2 separate regions of the Homo sapiens genome follow, and region 2 is linked to region 1. Evidence: promoter capture Hi-C in 16 types of primary human blood cells and fetal thymus (Javierre and others, 2016). All regions are on one chromosome and are shown on one strand. The core of a region is centred on a gene start or on the middle of the fragment in contact, and the rest is flanking DNA. Distances in the headings are between cores, read along the strand shown. Region 1 holds the start of SRSF11 (serine and arginine rich splicing factor 11). Region 2 holds the start of SERBP1 (SERPINE1 mRNA binding protein 1).

Region 1 (5,762 bases), core at 2,337-4,836:
ATGTCTTATTCCTATGTAAAACAGACATTAACATAATTATTTAATCTATTAGACCTACAAGAATCTTCAAAATTATGATTCAACTCTTCATTTGACTGAAAAACTGACACAGGTTCTTAGAAGTGAAGTGAAATTTTCTCAAATCACATGCTTGATGACAGGGGTGGGTTTTTTTTGTTTGTTTTTTGTGTGTGTTTTTTGTTTTTTGTTTTTTGAGACGGAGTCTTGCTCTGTTGCCCAGGCTGGAGTGCAGGGACGCGATCTCGGTTCACGCCATTCTCCCGCCTCAGCCTCCCGAGTAGCTGGCACTACAGGCGTCTGCTACCACACCCAGCTAATTTTGTTTTTGTATTTTCAGTAGAGATGGGGTTTCACCATGTTAGCCAGGATGGTCTTGATCTCCTGACCTCGTGATCCGCCCGCCTTGGCCTCCCAAAGTGCTGGGATTACAGGCATGAGCCACTGTACCTGGCCAACAGGGCTGGTATTTTAAGCCAGCCTTCTAACTTTAAATTCAGTAATTTTTTGTTGTTGTTGTTAGCTGCTAAATGATGTGAAAATAAAATATTTTAAAATCCTCTTCAGTTGCATAAACTTTTTGCCACTTAGTTTCTCTATAGCAAAGTATCATCTATTTGTTCAGTAAGTTATTGTACATAAATTGGCTTCTGGTGGTTTAAAGGATTTTATTACAACTACCTTTTTCTTTGGTTTGAATTTGTAGTTTTAATTATGAAATGTGTCAAACATACAGAAAAATGTAGAGTCATATAAAAGATTTATGTGTACCCATCACAGAGAATAAATAAGTGTTAACATTTCAGGAAAAAAAGAAAAAGGCATGAACCCTGACCTTCTGTTATTTGTCCTTTTATCATCAAATATTTTAGCATGCGTGGCATATAGTAGGCACTCACAATAAATGTTAAACTATTAAGTATCTGTAACTGGCAGTTACATATGTCTGATTCAAAATGAGAAAATTAATTACCATTCTTTGTATTCACAGATACTTATTTATGAGTGACGTGCAGTTAGTTATACAATCAGCCTCCATAACCATGTGTTCCACATACTTGGGTTTAACCAACCCCCATCAAAAATATTCAAAAAATAAAAAATAATGACATTAAAAATAAAAGGTTTTAGAAATACAGTATAAAAGCTATTTACATAGCATTTACATTGTATTCAGTATTAAAGTTGAGTATCCCTAATCCAAACCAAAATCCAAAATGCTCCAAAATCTGAAACTTTCTGAGCACTAACTGGCACAAGGTAAATGCTCATTGGAGCATTTCAGATTTTAAATGTTAGGATTAGGGATGCTAAATCAGTGAATATAATGCAGATATTCCAAAATCTTTTTTAAAAATCCAAAATCCAAAACACTTATGGTCCCAAGCATTTTAGATAAGGGTTACTCAAGAGTATGAGGGTATGTGCTTACATTATATGCAAATACAGTTGTACCAGTCCTGAGGTGAGTATTCATGGGGAATTGATACCAGGACCCCAGAGGATATCAAAATACACAGATGCTCAAATTCTTTATGTAAAATAGGATAGCGTTTGTATATAATCTGTGCACATCCTCCCAAATATTTTAAATCATCTCTATACTAATAATAATACAATGTAAATGCTGTGTAAATAGTTGTTAGACAAGAAATAAAAAGTCTGTACATGTTTAGACCATCAATTTTTTTCCAAATATTTTCAGTCCCAGGTTGGTTGAATCCACATACATGGAACCCATGGATACAGATCAAATGCTTTATTACACAACACCATTTTACATAGGGGATTTGAGCATCCTCTGGTTCTGGTATTTGTGGGAGGGTCCTGGAACCAATCCCCCACAGATACTGAGGGACAGCTATATGCTTTTCTTTAAAATTCTGAAAAGTCTTGGCTCTAGCTAATGTTAGTTGATTTCTATGAAGGCCATAATTTGTAATTTTGCTGAGGCTCACATTCAGTCAACCCATCCATTTTCTGTATAAGCACTAGTGAAAGTCACTTAGCCAGTTGGCTCTACACCCAAATCTCAATAACCTTGTGCTCTAATCTCTCACATATTGCATCTTGACTGCATTGTGCCAAGAGGTATTCACTAATGTAGATACTCTGTAAGGCTTCAAGTTTGTTTGTTTGTTTTTACCTCCAAAACATCTAAAACTTTTACCTCTAAAAACATTCAAGGTCAAGTGAATTATTTAGTGAACTGTCTTAAATGCCATTGTCATTAAGGTATATTTGTGCGTGTGTCCAGCACATTCATTGGGACTGACTGTGTGACAGACATTGTGCCAGGTTCTGGACTGACCCAGGAAGCTCACAACTTTGAGTGATACATGTCAATAATAAATACATGTATCTTCTGTTACTTAGCAGAAAAGAGGAAGCCCTAACAGCTTGCAGAAGTCATAGCAGTGAGGGAAGGAATGCTCTACAGAAGATGACAGATAAGATGAGTGATGTTATTAATAACTTGTGTATCGGCACAGAGACATTATGGTTTTTGTCATGTTTGGGGCACTACAAGTCACTGGACTACACACTGGATGCAGTTGAGAGAATAGTTCAGATGAGGTTGAAAACAAAAGCAAGGATTTTTTTAATAGTCAAAAGCTTCAAAATTATTTTAAGCAAGAATATGTATGTGAAACAAGTTTTTCTTGAGAAATTGCAGTATTTTCTTTAGAAATATATACTTGAATATATTTAAGTACTATAAACTGTGTTTCCAAAGTCAGCTATTGTGGAATTGGCTGGGTGCAGTGGCTCACGCGCCTGTAATCCCAGAACTTTGGGAGGCCAAGGCGGGTGGATCACCAGAGGTCAGGAGTTGGAGACCAGCCTGGCCAACATGGTGAAACCCCATGTCTACTAAAAATACAAAACTTAGCCTGGCGTCGTGGCAGGCGCCTGTAATCCCAGCTACTCCCGAGGCCTAGGTAGGAGAATGGCTTGAACAGGGGAAGTGGAGGTTGCAGCGAGCCAAGATGGTGCCACTGCACTCCAGCCTGGGCGACAGGGCGACTCTGTCTCAAAAAAAAAAGTCATCCATTGTGAATGAATGTACAAAACGCTTATTAATAAGTGTAATATTAAAATATATCTTTTCTGAAAGTTTTAGTGACAAAACAAATTAGTTACAGATTTAATGTTACCAAAATTCATGTACATTGAAAATTTCGGGACATTTTATACTGGTGGTGGTGGGGTGGCATCTTAGCTTGGGTTTAAATATCATTAGTAATCGGATAGCTCTGTAGATGATTATCAGTATATAAAGACATCGTGAGCAGTATTTAATAAGAAGAGTTGCTGAAGTGACTTTTGCAGGAGGATGAATGCTTTTTTTAAAAAAAAAGTTTATACGTGCCTCTTCGCTCTTCCAAAAAAAAAAGAGAGAAGAAAAAGAAGAATAAAACGAGAGACGAAGGTGGATAACACCTTTCTCTAGACCCCGGTGCCTCTCATTTCTCGGGCTGCAGGCGACGGCTGCTGGGCCTGCGCGGGGTGGAGCCGACGCTGACGCGCCCTGCGCCGCAAAGCATTGTGGGAGCTCGGGCCCGCTAGTGTCGTGGTTGGAGGCGAGGTGGGGCGGCCGTTTGTTTTCTCGTGGTCTCGAGCTCGCGCGCTCTCATCCCCTCCCCCGCGGCGTGCGGCGGGGCGGAGAAACGGCGGCGGCGGCGGCGGCATCGGCAGCAGTAGCAGAGGCTGTAGCATCGGACACCCTCCTCTCTCCCGCAATCCGGTTCCTCTTCCCCCTCCTTCTCACTGTTTGTTGTGTGTTTGATGTGTTAAAGCAGGAGCGAGAACCCGAGCAGCGCCATGAGCAACACTACCGTCGTCCCCAGCACTGCAGGTCCGGGCCCCAGCGGCGGGCCCGGTGGCGGAGGTGGTGGTGGCGGCGGAGGCGGCGGCACCGAGGTAATCCAGGTGACTAATGTCTCCCCGAGCGCTAGCTCTGAGCAGATGCGGACTCTCTTCGGTTTCCTAGGCAAGATCGACGAACTGCGCCTCTTCCCGCCGGAGTGAGTATCGTCCACCATCACTGTTCCTGCTAACGCCGCCTCAGCCTGGGCCTAACACACACAATTTCCTTAGGCCCCTGTCGCTGCTTCCCCGGGCCAGGCTGCTTGAGTGGCTGGTGGCTGGTGGATTTACTTAAGACGGTTGTGTTCCAGGCCTACAAAAAAATGCAGAGAGGCAGGGCCAGGGCTTTTTGGAATTAGGAAACACTGGCTGTTATTCTCGGGAAATTTTTTTTTTCCGCCTTAAATTGTGCCAACGTGGTCGTTTGGCTTTGGGGACTTAACGCAAGACTAACCGCAGTCTGTACGTCGTATATAGGTTAAATCCCTTTTTTAAAAAACTGAGTATTTGTTCTTTGCGTTCTTGGAAGAAAGGTAACAAAATTATTCATGCCTGTGTTAATTTGGTGTTAAACTTTGTAGGTTGTTCACTTATTGTTATTGCTGTTATGTGGTTCTGGCCCAGCAATATAATTCAAAGATCATATTCTTTTTGACAGACGCTTAGTTTAGTGTGAGCCTGATTACTTAATTTGTATAATGTCAAAAAACGGGTTATAAACCAGAGATTTTCCTTTGTTTGAATAATATACAGATTTGTGATATTTCACAGTTGTTCTTGAGAAGGATTTTTATAAATGTTGAAATTTGAATTAGAGTGTATGACTTTTTATCCTTTTTGTCTCACTTTTATTTTGAAAATTATTTCTATCGCAAGAATATTAAGTGGATGAATTGTAAAGAAAAAATAGTTCAAAGAAGCTAAGAAGTAAGATAAAGTGTACTACTAAAACAGACAATTGGAATAATAATAATAGTCTTGTGCTTTTTGGAAGACTTATTGGTGGAGAAGTGACAATTCAAATGTCATTATCAGTAAATATCATATATTGAGAATTTTATGATGTCACTTAAATACTAAACAGGAAATTGGAATCCTCTAAGAATCTACTGTTATGGTACGTGTAACCATTAACTTTCTGCTCAATAAAATAATTGACAAAAGTTTATCATAATGAGATATTTGTTAAGTATTAGCATATTTCATCACTTTCCACTTAAAATACTTTCACAAGATTATTGGTGTTTTCAAATTGGTATGTTTCTAATTTTTAGGGAAATGTACATGTGGAGAGAGGATTTACTTAGTTTGCATGACGTGGAGTTCTGGGAACAAACACGTAAATCTTTATTCCTGTTATTTTGACAGATACTTGATTTGGTAATGAAAGACAAATAGCTTTCATAACATGAACATACAAAAATAGATGCTTTGCTGTTGTTCAGTTTTCTCAAGACTTACTGTTTTAAGCTTGTAAAATTAATGAACAGTAAAATAGCAGAAAATAGTGATACATTGGATGATTTTAATAGTTTTATTAGTGAGATATTTGAGGTATTCGAATTACTACAATTCTTTCCAATCCTACAAGTTAAAAATTTTGTTATGGTTGCTGACTTTTAAATGCTGTTTATTCTCTGAAGGCAGTTTTATGATGCATTTAGAAAAAAGGTAAGAGAGATGTAGGCATTATACTGGTTCATCTTTTACCTAATGCATGACCAGTATACTAGAGGAAGTTGTGATGGACCAGAGTCTTTTTGTTTTGTAATCAAATGAATAGTTCCTTCATAACCAGGACAGCTAGTGTGTGCTTGAGAATGTCTCCCTCAACTATATGATCTGGGATATTCTGCATTAAAAGGACTCCCTTC
Region 2 (5,762 bases), core at 1,518-4,017, 2.8 Mb before region 1:
AAGTGCACTGGGGTGGAGTTATGGAACCAGTCCTTGCAATAATATCCAAGCCAAACACACCCAAGTGAACAATAGTTGGCGTCCCCACCCAATATCAAGTTTACAGAATCTTAAAAACGTATTAAACCTACCTAATGAAAAAGACTGACATTTAAAAATGCAAGCTTCTTTTGATATACTTATCTATAACTTGCAAGCTCACTAACTGCACTAGTTTCAAGGCATTCATTCTTTTTTAGAAAATCCCTGGTCTACACTCTCAATGACATTCTGCTGTCAATTCTCAAGTTCTTCAAATGGGCAAGAGAATGTACAAAATTAATTCATAAAACATAAACATTAAATATCTGTCTAAAGTATGTCAAGTATTATGTCACAATGTGTTATCAAAATCACAGAACACAATCAGGTTAACCTTCCTACTACATGCAGCGACTTTGTTTACAGATTTATTCCCAGTAATCAGGACAGTAGAATCTCAAAACGGGTATTGTCCATTCAACACTTTTCCTGTATTTTACATGCTTGTATTTTATGCAACTTAACAGTAGTGCTCTGAAATACTGACCTAAGGAAAATGCTGATTGCTAACATGGAATAGTTTTCCCATGGAAAGACTCATTGAACGGTGAACCTAAGTCTTGGTTCTAACTTCATGAAATCATTCCCCACATTTGTTAACTTAAAATACTACTTTTCAGGTAAGAGCTTATTTCATAGATGGGCTTCATGATCAAAATAACTCAGGCATTTAAACCATGCTTCATGTTTTGAACATTCAAAATGAGTGAACACATCTACCTGGTACACATTATTCGTCAGATTCAACTTTTTCGTGTACTTTCTTAAGCTTAAGCATAGTTTAAATAATTACACAAGTCAGCGTTACTTAACACACGAATTAAATGATTTATTTAATTGTGCTAGATTGCCATAAAGCTTAACTGGCTGAAGAGATACTTGGCCTAAGTGATATACATGCTTTCTAATACTCCAACTGTATTTTTCCTCAACCTATAATTTTACCACAAGAATTAATTATTTTCTTTTATTCACCACCTAGGACCGAGGTTCTTCATTCCGAGCCTCACAAAAGTCCTCAAAAAAAAAAAAAAAAACCCTCCTAAAACAAATCCTACCACGAGAAAATTGTTTTGATTTTTAAAATTAGTTCACTGTTACAGAATTCAACTAAAGCTAAAGAGAAACAACTCCTTTCAGAGAAGCACGTGGCAGGAAGGGGTAATTTCAACTTTCAACATATAAATGCAGCTTTAAAGATTCAGACCTTAGGTCCAACACCTGCTTGCTATTGATCATGCACGTTCTTATCTCCAAACTGCTTGCTCTTTTTTTTCATCCGCAACAAACTGGTAAAGCGAATGCAAAAATCAAGACAATCCTGTGAAACTCACAGTGCCCTAGAAACAACTATTAACCGCCAGTGAAACTCTGACCATGCTTCACGCACATGTGGTGGAAAAAAAAAACTGCGAACTCTAAAGAGCTCTGCTGCGACTAACGCTGTGACAGCCTCTGCACTCACTTCACCCACGAGGCCCAGACCCCACCACGTGAAAGATTCAGTTTGGGGAGTCGAGAGAGAGGATCGTGACTCGAGGACGTTCCTCGGGATGTCCTGCAATCACCAGTCTTCATTCATAATTCCCGCTCCTGGTTAATCGAGTGTGGCCAAACTCCTCCATTTCCCAACGGCTCAACTCACCCCAGCAAGTTATGAGAAAGTCCTAACAGTTGAGAGGTGGAAGAGAAACAAATAAAGGACATGCGGCACCCCAACCTGCAGCTTACTCCACACGTCTGATGGCCTGGAACGACCCCCTGCTTTTCAGCGGGGATACTCCGCGCCGTCGTGGGACAAGACGGCAGGACAGGAGCCTGAAACAACAGCACCTCAAAGGAGCAGCTCTGCGCAGTAAGCAGCGATGGACCCCCAAGCTCCTCCGTAACTACGGAAAGCTTCGGTGAGGGGCCGGCTTCCCCGCACCTCAGTCCATGCGCTCACCCGCCAAGGAATCCGGCGGGAAGGCAACAGCCTCCCAGGACCTCGAGCGCGCTCGAGGAGCAGCTCATCTCCGACCACGCTCCTCTGCTCACAACCTGAGGCGGGAAGGGGATGGCTCCGAGAACCTCGCCGGCGGTGGCTTGAACTTGGGGCTACCACGCTCCTGGCACCTTCGCAGGACCGGACTTTTGTCGCGTGAAGAAACGTGAGGATATAGGCGGCAAAGTCTCCCGCGGACCCTCGGAGCTCCAGAAACAAGTGGCAGCCGGCAGCCCCCTCGCTCCTTCCCTCCATCCCAGTCTCCCCCACATTCTGCCCCTGCTTTACCTTCTTTCTTAAGCGCCACGGGCGGCTGCGTCTCCTCTTTCTTGTCAACCACGCCAACGCTGGGGGGCAGCGGGTTCTTGCGGTCTTTCTGGGACTCCTTGCGCAGCTGTTTGCCTGCCGCGTTGGAGTTGGTCTGGGCCGCGGCCTGAGCTGCGCTCTTGGCCCCAGGGCCCCCAACGCCGCCCCCGCCGGCTTCTTTTTTCTTGTTCTCTGCTGCCTTCAGCACCTCGAAGGGGTCCGATTCGTCGTCAAATAACTGGTCGAATCGGTTGGTGACCACGCAGCCGAAGCCTTCCTGTAAGTGCCCAGGCATGATGGTGGCTCGGCGGCGCGTTCCTCCACGGATTGCAGCGGGCCGCGCCGAGCCAAGAGCGCCTGCTTCAGCTCTTCCCACAAGATGGCCGGGCCGAGAGAGGGGGGCCGTCTTCTCTTCCGGCGCCAGGCACACATCCGGGAGCGGCCTGCGCCGCAAGGCACTGTGGGGTATGTAGGCCAGAGTCATTTCTCCTGAGGCGACTCTCCGCGTCGGGACTACAATTCCCAGGACGCACCGCGCGACAACTCTTCGCGCGCGCCTGAGAGGCGAGACCCCATGAGGGGAGTGAAGCGTGCGGGCTGAAGGAAGGGAAGCGTGGTGGTGGGCGGAGTCCTGCCACCTGCTCTGGCCACCCTTAAACTCTCTAGGTCTTCAGCTACCTTGAAACCAAAAAACCGTGACGGCGTAACTGACTCGCGAAAGTGCTCTTTGGTTTCACTCACGCCCCCTCGGGCTCAGGGCTAACTTTCCCCACCGCTCCAGGGGGGTCAAGGTGACTCCCAGACCTTACATCTGAGACGCACAAACTTCCGGGGGAGGGGGTGTTGCTGAGGCGCCGCGCCGGCCGCGGGTAGGCTGGACCCTGCCTGTGCCAAGTCCGAGCTGCTCAGTTGCTGGAGTGGCCCTCCGTCAGCCTCCACGGTGAATCGAGGCTCTTCTGTCTAATGTGAGGGGGAATACGTTTCCTCTCGCGGGGACATGAACTAGGGTAGCAGAACTAACCAAAAAGACAAGTGAAACTATCACATGGGAGCGTGGCGCGTCTTTCCCGGGCTTCTCACCGTGTGGCGGCGGGTGTCGTAGGAGTGGTTAACTCCTGACGGTGCAGCGCTAGACGCGGGGCAAGCCTCCAGGAAGCACTGTTTATAGAAACCCTGTTACAATTATTCCAATTAATCGTCCGTTCGTGTCCGGCAAGTCAGGGCTTAGGTGGCTGTGTTGTTAGTCACATGCGCTCAATACATATCATTTGAGAACATTTCGAGTGCATGTGTGCTAGGAGTTGCGGTGAGGGGAGGGAAATATTGAAGTCAACACTTAATAATGACAAAGCATTGATACTAGTTGAGAATATTAAAATTCATTAAAAGAATACAATTTGAATGCGTATTTAAGCACATTTGGTAGCACCGGGTTTAAGTATATCATAATTTTTAAGTCCTTTTCCATTAACACAAAGTAGCAAATGCATCGCTTATTTGGTAGGAGCTATGAATAACCTTGAACTCAACATTTTGTTAGGCAAATAGTTTGCCTCTTTTCACAAATGTTGAAACCACTTCAGAGATGAAATGATTTACCAAATTCACACCTCTGTAAGTGCTAGTGACAGGCATTAGCCCAGTATTCTATCTCCACTAGGAGACTGGACATCAGCTCTTTAATTCAGACTGCCCTGATAGAAAGCAGTCCAATTTTTAAATTTCCGATATAATTTAAACATTGTTGCGTGTCAGGATATGTAACATGGCGGAATGTAATCATCAATTTCCGAGCAGATTTTAAATCAATTCCTTAGCAGGGAAAATAGAAGACACGAGTCATATTACATACATGGGGCAGCAAGCCTCCTGGTTTTCTTGTTTCTCAATCCTCCCCTATTCCTCACTTATTTCCCTGCTGCCTCAGTCCTGCACCCTGCCCACAACGCCCAACCTCAAACACACCCCCTATCTCATCCCCCCTTCCACAGGCTCTGGTTCTGTGGCACCTACCAAGACAAGGAGCTTTTGACCATACTCTTCCCACCTTTTTGAAATAGCTCAAGTGCAATGTAGAAGATCTCCACATTTTGACAGATTTTCTCTCTTCACGGGCTGTTGCGTCTCTGAGACTGCCTGCATCTTTGAGACATCTGTGAAAGCTCCTCTTCTTAACTCTTTCTGGCCACGGCCACAGTAACAATATTCATACTAAAACGTGATGTTTTAGTGTGTGCTTGGTGCACTTTACATACGTGATCTCCTTTAAACCTTACATCAACTCTATAAGAAAGTTATTACTCCATACCTCCCCCCCGCAAAAAAAAAGTTATTGCTCCTGTTTTAAGATTAGGAAAATGAAAACAAAGAGCTTAAGTAAGTTAACTACTCCTGCCACAATCTGGGGGGTGGGGCAGGCCTGTTGTTATTCATTTTTCTCCTCCATTACAGATTTCTGGTTTGCTCAAACAGAGCTTCGTAACCACCAAGCATTATTACAATAAGAATATTTGAAAATAAGCTACACATAGAGGAATTTTCTGGCTATGAATTTATGAGGTTCATTTATGCTCTTCAGAGAATTTACCTATTAAGATTACATAAAAATGTTATGAATAAGCATTTGGAGAAAAGGGGAGAATCTTCTATATTTCCAAAAAGTTTTGAAGCCCATTTTTAAAGTATACAAATAAAGCTCAAGGTGGTCTTTTACATCTCTCAATCGTTATTTTATAACTAGTTATTTTCACTAATGTTTCCTTTATTCTACAAAATTGAAATATTAATTTCTTAATATTAAATATTAAAATGTCTAAAAGTTCTTGCTACTCTCAATAGGAGAACATCAGCCAAATAAACCTCAAGGGAAGAGAAATTTCCTAGACACTATTATTCAAATTAAAGAAATGATTTATGAAAGCAACAAGTGTCAGACGATATCACTAGACATGTGGCCTAAAATGTCATCTCTCTGTAGCAATATTTGAATCACATCTTCTTCTCTGAAAAATACTCATGAAACTTCACAGTCTTATCTACAAGGATTTTCTAGCAATAAATGCTGAAAACCATGATTAAATATCTGATAGAGTTGCCTAATGTTAACAAAATGGAGAAACAATATTGTATCTCCTTCCTTCCTGCCTTCATTTACTTTCAGGATGCTAATACAGTACTCAATTCTCAGCCACATTACAATCTGCTTTCATCCATTTCTTGATAATCTCAACCCCGTTATTGTTGCTATAAATAGTAGCAATGACTAACAATTGCTGTACTACATTTTTTTGTACCCATGTTCAGTTGATTCTCCTGCCTCAGCCTCCAGAGTAGCTGGGATTACAGGCCTGTGCCACCACACCCGGCTAAATTTTTGTATTTAGCTGAAATT

Evidence for each region. Contacts are between HindIII fragments. The CHiCAGO score rates a contact against its expected background, and 5 or more counts as called.
Region 2: the fragment with the promoter of SERBP1 here is called in contact with the fragment with the promoter of SRSF11 in region 1 in 5 of 17 cell types (total B cells, naive CD4 T cells, fetal thymus and 2 more); the score reaches 7.9 in total B cells.

What each region holds. Positions count from the first base shown.
Region 1 is chr1:70,217,794-70,223,555 of GRCh38, forward strand. It overlaps SRSF11 (serine and arginine rich splicing factor 11), which reads left to right and starts at 3,587. Exons shown (of 12, transcript NM_001350605.2): 1 at 3,587-4,046. The coding sequence starts at 3,844. RefSeq lists an enhancer at 3,481-4,026 and a silencer at 3,922-3,971. The HindIII fragment of the contact is 2,724 bases long and covers 2,633-5,356 here.
Region 2 is chr1:67,427,635-67,433,396 of GRCh38, forward strand. It overlaps SERBP1 (SERPINE1 mRNA binding protein 1), which reads right to left and starts at 2,768. Exons shown (of 8, transcript NM_001018069.2): 1 at 2,354-2,768. The coding sequence starts at 2,666. RefSeq lists enhancers at 1,305-1,941, 2,577-3,212, 2,650-2,919, 3,130-3,209, 3,240-3,419. The HindIII fragment of the contact is 6,007 bases long and covers 1,979-5,762 here.